2 separate regions of the Homo sapiens genome follow, and region 1 is linked to region 2. Evidence: promoter capture Hi-C in 16 types of primary human blood cells and fetal thymus (Javierre and others, 2016). All regions are on one chromosome and are shown on one strand. Each heading gives the region's core, a stretch centred on a gene start or on the middle of the fragment in contact. The rest is flanking DNA. Distances are from core to core; before and after follow the strand shown.

Region 1 (3,797 bases), core at 311-2,810, 1.4 Mb before region 2:
AGAGCACCCATTTTTCTTCAGTTAATAATGTAAAAAAGACTTCATTGATGTGGTTAAATTCCCAGGACTCTCAGTTCTTTAGGGATGGCCCAAATGGCTGGTGTTATCGCTTACAAAAGTGTCTTGAACTTCATGGGCTTATGTTCAGAAATAAAGTTTACAGTTTTGTTTTTGTTTTTGGAGTCTTGCTCTATCATCCAGGCTGTAGTGCAGTGGTGCAATTTTGGCTTACTGCAACCTCTGCCTCCCAGGTTTAAGCGATTCTCCTGCCTCAGCCTCCCAAGTAGCTGGGATTACAGGTGTGCACCACCACACCCAGCTAATTCTTGTATTTTTGGTAGAGATGGGGTTTCGCCATGTTGACCAGGCTGGTCTTGAACTCCTGACCTCAGGTGATCTGCCCACCTCGGCCTCCCAAAGTGCTGGGATTACAGGTATGAGCCATAGTGCTGAGCCAAAGTTTACATTTTTTATCTTTTAATTCAATTTTTCCACAAACTTTTTGAAATGCCCTCATACAAATTAAGAGCATATACACATATACAGTTGAAGCAACAATAAAATGAGGTTGCCTATTAGGAATGCTTAGAATGGAAAGGAATGATGTGAAAGAAGAATTTTAAAAAATACTGCTTAGTCATGAAGGCAAGAAAAAAACCAGGATGGTAGCATACCAGAGACTTCTAGAAAAGGTGGCAGGTTGGTATAAAAGACTCAGAGAGGTCAAATAGACACTGATGGATATGTTAGACTCTGAAATCAGAAGGCCATTGGTGACTTGGGAACAGCTATAGTGAAAAAGTGAGTGAATGGCAAAAACAGATTTTCCAAGAAGTCTGGTTATGAAGGGAAGGAGAAAGAGAGAGAGAGGAGTATGAGGGGAGGGAAAATGGGGGTGGAGGGGTAGGGAAAGAGAGGGAGGAGAGCATGCAAGAGAGTAGCAGTTTTCAAATTTGGTCTCAGGACCTTTTACCCTCTTAAAAACTATTGTAGACCCCAAAGGGCTTTTGTTTATGTTGGTTATATCTACCAATATTTACCATAATAAATTGATGCTGAGAAACTTAAAAATTACTTATTAATTCATTTAAAATAATCATAAATATAGATGTTAGCATATATATTTTAATAAAATAATTACCTTTTCCTCAAAAACAGAAGAACAACATTGTTTTAAAGTTTTGCTAATCTCTTCAATATTTAACTTAATAGAAGAGAGCTGAATTCTTGTATCTGCTTCTGCACTCAACCCACTGCAGCATGTTGTTTTGGTTGATGTATATGAAGAAAATCCAGCTTCACACAGACATATAGTTATAAAGAAAGGTGTATTTTAATAGCCTTTTCACAAAGTAGTAGATATTTCTCTTTGATACTACACTAAAATTTGACAAGAAATAACTTCCTAAAGGTAAGCTGCAATGAGGAATCTGAAGCTGTATAAATTAACTTGGAACATTAAAATCCATTGCACTCTGAATGAATCTTTTAACTAAACATGATTTTGACCTTACAAATCTCCTGAAAGAGCATTAGGGACTCCAACCAGACTTTTGAGAACTGTTGGTGTTAAGGGTTTAAGACTTAAGCTGTTTGGCAATACAAATGGGATAATGAATAGCATATAGGGTGAAGAAATCAGCCTTGAATAGAGAGAAACCTCTTTTGAATCTAGAAAGAAGGAAGCAGAGGTTTAAATACAGATATATTTGAAGGGAGAAGAGTTCCCACATACTGTTATTTTTTCTGTGAAACAGGAAATGAAGTCATCTAGGGCCAGGTAAAAGAATAGCCCACATACCTTAAAGGCCACCTGGTAAATGCCTATTATTCCTTCAAGCCCAATTCAAAAGGCACTGTTAGCTTCCCCTGATTGTCATCTCTTTTGCTCCAAAATGTCACCTAGTCATTCTTCTGTTATAATAATTATTATGTTTTACTGTTTATGTGTTTGCTTTCTCTGTTAGATGGGTGCTCTCCTGAGCTAGGACCCAACCAAATTCACCTCAGCAACGACTCACAACATTTGTGTTGAATGAAAGGCTGATGACTTTTTAACTTTAATTAAGAAATTGTATCTAGGTTGCCTATAGACTCTGCAGTTGCTCTCTTCAAGTTATTTTTCCTTACTAAGATTTCTCTCTACTGTAAGGTACAACATGATTGACAAAGCTAGACAAGATAGAACTGCTTAGTAGTCTTATAAATTAGAGCAAAATACAAGGAATTGAGGAAAAAACCCAGACTATCTAAAGGCCAGGGATAAATTTGGTAGCTCTCCTGCACCCAGGCTTCCAGCAGAGGTGATAAGTGTAGGGATACTAGGAAAAAGAAGGCCTTCTGCAACTCCTCCACACATGTGCCCAGAAGTTCAAAATCCCAGAAATTAAAATTTTACTTTAAATGTATATTCATATACCACTCCCAACCACATACTTACAAGAACATAAGCCAAAATATTAACGTGGTTATCCCTTGGTGATGACTTTTATGATAGTTTTGTTTTCATTTTGCTTTTCTGAATTTTCAATAATGAAAACAGACTGGGCAAAAAAAAACTTAAAAAGTGTCATCTCTTTCAAATTCTTCAAGATTTACTTTAGTACACTTAGGATTAACACAGGTGGAACAGGATATGTTGCTTACAAATAAGTAAATACCTTCATGACTGTTTCCTCATACCACTAACTCTCATAGTAAAGAAAACCCATTCATATTTTCAAGTAAGACAATTCAGACAAGTGTAAAAGGTGGGGTGGTGATTGAGAAATATATTAAAATAAGCACCTGCTTATGGAATCCAATGCCTTCCCAAAGTACTGTGCCCAAAACAGGAGGGCAAAAGATTCTTGTCAAATGTGTTAATAAAGTTTTAAGACTGCTTCATTAGCACTTTGATCAGAGGAAAAGATTGTGCAGGGGTGGAGGGAAGATGAACTTTGAGGTTGCACAGGCCTAAGTTCTAACCAAAGCCAACTGTGACCAGAGCTAGTAAATACATTTCTCTGCACCTTGCTTTTCTTTATCTGAAAAACAGAGATAGTAATACCTAAGAATTGCTGTAAGAATTAAAATCAACACATGCAAAGGGCCAAATCTTGTCACATAATAATAGGTGGTCAAAAAAAAAAAGGAGCAATTATTATTTCCTGGCAGAAATTATTCTTATATCACATTATTTTTAAAGATATGTGCAGACTGTATTTAGGTTCAATTTCCAGAACAGTAGTGAGGATCTACTGAAAGCGTACAAATAACAAGTCTGAGAAAATAGCTAAGCTTTTGAGATGGTGGCTGTCTTATTTGATCAACCATGGTAATTTTAATGTATTTATATCCTTTCTAAAATACACTATTTACTTCCATATATTCTTAGCAAAATATGCTGTATAACCATTAATCTTTATTTTTAGATACTTTAACATCATCATTATGAACAAAAGCTGGTGAGGGCTTCCAGAGCTATTAAATTAGATAGGGCTGCCTATTACAAACTGGGATATGTGCTGGTGTACCATAAATTAAACTTAACATATCTTTCTTGAACATTGATCCAACACAACAGTAAGTAATTGAAAATGCTTTGCATATATTTAAAAAACAAAATATAATACCATTGACTCACCAAATATTTACTGAGTGTCTACTTTGTGCTAGATACTGCTCCAGGCCCCTGGAGATGAAGCATTAGGAAAATTAGAGAAAAAAAACAAAACAAAACCAAAACCTGAATTCATGGAGTTTATATTCTAATGGAGGAAGGAAGGCAATAAGCAAATAAATAAACTCTATAGTAT
Region 2 (3,758 bases), core at 655-3,154:
AAAAACTGGGAGAGGATGCTTTTTAAAAAATGGTATTTCCAACTTTTTTTGAAAAAATTAGATGTTCTGGCAAAACTGGGATCATATTCTCACATAGCCACAATCAGCTGTAGCTGAGTGGCAGGTGACCCCTTCTAAGGGTGAAGTATTCATTAACGTTAACTGCCTGATCTCTGCAGCATACCTTCAGCACCTGCAATCATTCAAGAAATAACTGACTGTCTTATGTGCCAAGAACTGTATTAGCTACTGGAGTTACAAAGATAAACGAGACAAACACAGTCCCTCACCGACAGTCTCGCTTAGTAGGGATGGCAAAGAAGCAATTAAGATACATGTGATAAATGCCGTGAGGGAAGTGCAGGACAGCTAAGAGTACATAGCAAAAATACCTAACTCTATGGAAGTTAGGGTATACCCCTCAAGTAAAGTGACAGCTAAACTCAGATCTTTAATAGAAGTTATCCAGAAAAAGATAGGAGGAAACAGGGAGCTCAAATGTCCCAGAGAGAGAAAAGAGCCTTTGTGAAGATACTGAGGGAAGAAAGTATTCTGAGGAATTGAAATCCGTTCAACATGGCTACAGCCATGCCCAACCTTTAAATGCAGGGTCAGAGAAAGGGCTCAACTGAAATGGCTGGCAGGAAAATCTACGTGTTATCAATAGTTAAGGTTAGGAGATGAAGGAGAATTTCACTAAAGAAGTTGAATATGTAAAATAGTTTAAGCAGGAAATAGAGGTTTCAGAAAGCACAGATGGGGTGTTGAGGGGTTAAATGGGGAAGAAACGAAGAAGCAGTGATAGCCTAAGTCGAAAGAAAGCACAAAGCAGCATGGAAATGAGACTATAGCACAGAAGACCACAGAAGCTTACATCTTGGGCGGTAACCAAGGATAACAGAGATGTAAAGCATGGTAAGTTTGGCTGGCCACAAGTATGCCTAGAGAATTAGTGCCAGCGGTCTCCTGTCGGCCACGGAGGCATTCAGGCCTCTCAAAATTCAGCTGCGCCCTGGATGGATTGTACTTCCGTCTCTATAGAAGACATCGGCTTCACTCTGGATTGATTGTGCAGGCTCCAGGAGAGGCTGTGGGTTCCAGGCTGCTGGAACGCAGGCTCCCAGGGAGTGGTTAGAGGCCTGGTCTGTATGTGCTGGTAGGCAGAAGTATAAATTACCTTGCATTACGTTCTGATTTTTCTGTAGGAATGGTGGGCATGTTATGGCCTCTTAGAGAAAAAGCAGTGCGTAGCCATTATAGATTTACAGGAAGAGAAAAGGTGCCAAGAAGATCAACACTTGTCCATACCCATACTAAAGATGAGTCATTCTGTGAATCCAACTCTCCCCAAGTTGACCTCGTCTCCCCAACTAGACTGAGATCTTCACCAGAAAACAAAACAAAACAAAACATAAAAGGTCTGTTTATTTTGTAGTTCCCAAAGTGCCTAATAGCTGGGTACCGTGAACACCTTCAGTAAAATTACCGACTTCCTGACTCCTCTCGGGTCACTGAAGTTACCTAGCTCAGTCGTCTTCTTGCATATTAAGGCGCTACAGAGAGGCGAACCCCTATCTTAGACTCAATACTTCCCTTTATTCCAAACTCCACTGCGTCTCTCCACCCTCAACCGCATGGGCAGAATTGTCACACAATTCAAAGGCAGGAGAATCCAGGACCCGACACAGAAAACTCCCGCCCACTCCCCCCCGTTTAGCAGCCCGCACACGCTCTGCATCCATCTCTGGGAAAGGTAAAAAGCGCTCACCGACTCTGGCCCTCCGGGAGACCCCGTAAATGCAGCCGTCCGCTCGCCGCCGTTATCCCAGGTAGGTACTTCCGGCGCGCGCAATGACGTTAGCGAAGCGCTCGCCTCTGGGCCCGCCTTCGGGGCCCGGATCTCAAACAGTCGGGAAGAAGCACCGTGGCTGCTATTATCTGCTCTCCGCGCCTGACCCCTCCCAGGACTCGTGATGCCAAGGCCGCTGCGAGCGGCTACGAAGAGTCGGGGTTGAGCCCCAGCTGAGCCGAGGGCTCGCACTCTTCTGGTCTCCCAGGCCCAACCCACCTGAAGGTAAACGCCTCCTCAGCTGCGGCCTTCTCTCCTGCGGGGCCCCCTCCCCAGACTCGGCTGCCAAAACGCTCTGCCCCTCTCTCCCGCCACCCTTTTTATTCCAGGACCTTAACCTCTGCCTGCCTTCGCGGCTCTCAGCAGAACGTGTAACGCATAGTTTCAAATGAGAAACTTAAAAAGCGACGTATCTATGTTGAGTTCCTGAAGTTTTCTAAATAATTCCCCCATAACACCAAACATGAGGCAGTTTTCTCATTCCTTCACGAATTGGCATGCCATAGAGTCAGTATTTTTCCATTTGTGATGGTTGATCTTCCCATCTCAAATACACACCGCACGCTCTTTTTAAATCAGAAATTTGAATTTGGTTGAGCCTGATATTTTCACGGTAATTTGCTGACTTTGTAAGATAAGATGTGAAAATTACTGATTACATTTGTAAACTTTATATACATATACACACATACCTACAGGTCTGTCTCTTCGAGGCACCAAGCCTATTTATATAATGTATCATTTCATAATTTGGCAATAAGCAAAATTAGCGTTTCGAAAGAAGTTTATATTGTCGATACATAAAGCTTAAATTTACTCCTTAACATCATACTAAAAGGGGAAAAGAAAATTTTCCTCTTAACACACCACTCCAGAGAAAAAAAATATTAAGACAAGCAAAAAAGGTACCCAGCCATAGTACAGGCATGCACAGCATAACAACTTTTTGATTAACAACAAACCACATATACCACAGTGGTCTCCTAAGAGTGTAATACATTGTACCATATTTTTAGTGTACGTTTTCTGTGTTTAGCTATGTAAATATTTACCATTGTGTTTCAACTGTCTACATTATTCACTACATTAACATGCTGTACAGGTTGTAGCCTAGGAGCAATAGGCTAGACCATCTAGGTTTGTCTCAGTACACCCTGTGATGTCTGCACTGTGAAATCACGTAACACTCAGAACATACCTCCTTCATTAAGCATAGCATGACTGTGTATTAGCAAAAATCAGTGGCTAAGGTTCTGTCTGAGTCCCCATGCTCTTTCTGACCTGGGTGAGCAAGGTGCAGGTAATGTACATATACAGTACATATTCAATAGAGCATTTTTTTTGCTCATGGTCTGAGTGGAAGTTAGGAGTAGCCTCAGGGTTTTTCCTTCATCTGTTCAAAACCCGTCTCCCTACCCATACAATCTGGCACTGAAAGTGTTGGTATAAAGAATACTTGAAAGAAGAAGAACCAAAAAAGAATTTTTTTTAAGTGGTGACTGGGAAAAAGGAATTCCTTAATTCAGCCTGCTGGAGTCATTGTTCCTAACTTCCTAAAATGTAAGGAAGGTGTACACATCTGGCATAATTAAATCGGTGATTGTTAATACTTTATTGGTTTTTGTTTTTTGTTTTTTTCCAAATAATACCCAGACTGGTCTGATGTATTGGTTTTATTTGGAATTAATAATACTTGGTTTAGGCCAGGTGTGGTGATTCATGCCTGTAATCCCAGCACTTTGGGAGGCTGAGGCAGGTGGATCATTTGAGGTCAGGAGTTCAAGACCAGCCTGACCAACATGGTGAAACACTGTCTCTACTAAAAATACAAAATTAGCCAGGCATGGTAGTGGATGCCTATAATCCCAGCTACTCGGGAGGCTGAGGCAGGATAATTGCTTGAACCTGG

The links. Contacts are between HindIII fragments. The CHiCAGO score rates a contact against its expected background, and 5 or more counts as called.
Region 1: a fragment that was not itself captured here is called in contact with the fragment with the promoter of ZCRB1 in region 2 in 1 of 17 cell types (fetal thymus); the score reaches 5.5 in fetal thymus.

The regions. Positions count from the first base shown.
Region 1 is chr12:43,760,801-43,764,597 of GRCh38, reverse strand. The region is part of intron 1 of IRAK4 (interleukin 1 receptor associated kinase 4); the gene reads right to left. Among named protein-coding and RNA genes, the nearest start is that of IRAK4, 3.7 kb to the right of the region's middle. The HindIII fragment of the contact is 3,443 bases long and covers 1-3,281 here.
Region 2 is chr12:42,324,240-42,327,997 of GRCh38, reverse strand. It overlaps ZCRB1 (zinc finger CCHC-type and RNA binding motif containing 1), which reads left to right and starts at 1,904. Exons shown (of 8, transcript NM_033114.4): 1 at 1,904-2,074. PPHLN1 (periphilin 1) reads right to left here and starts at 1,831. Exons shown (of 10, transcript NM_201439.2): 1 at 1,769-1,831. RefSeq lists an enhancer at 2,159-2,208. The HindIII fragment of the contact is 1,786 bases long and covers 872-2,657 here.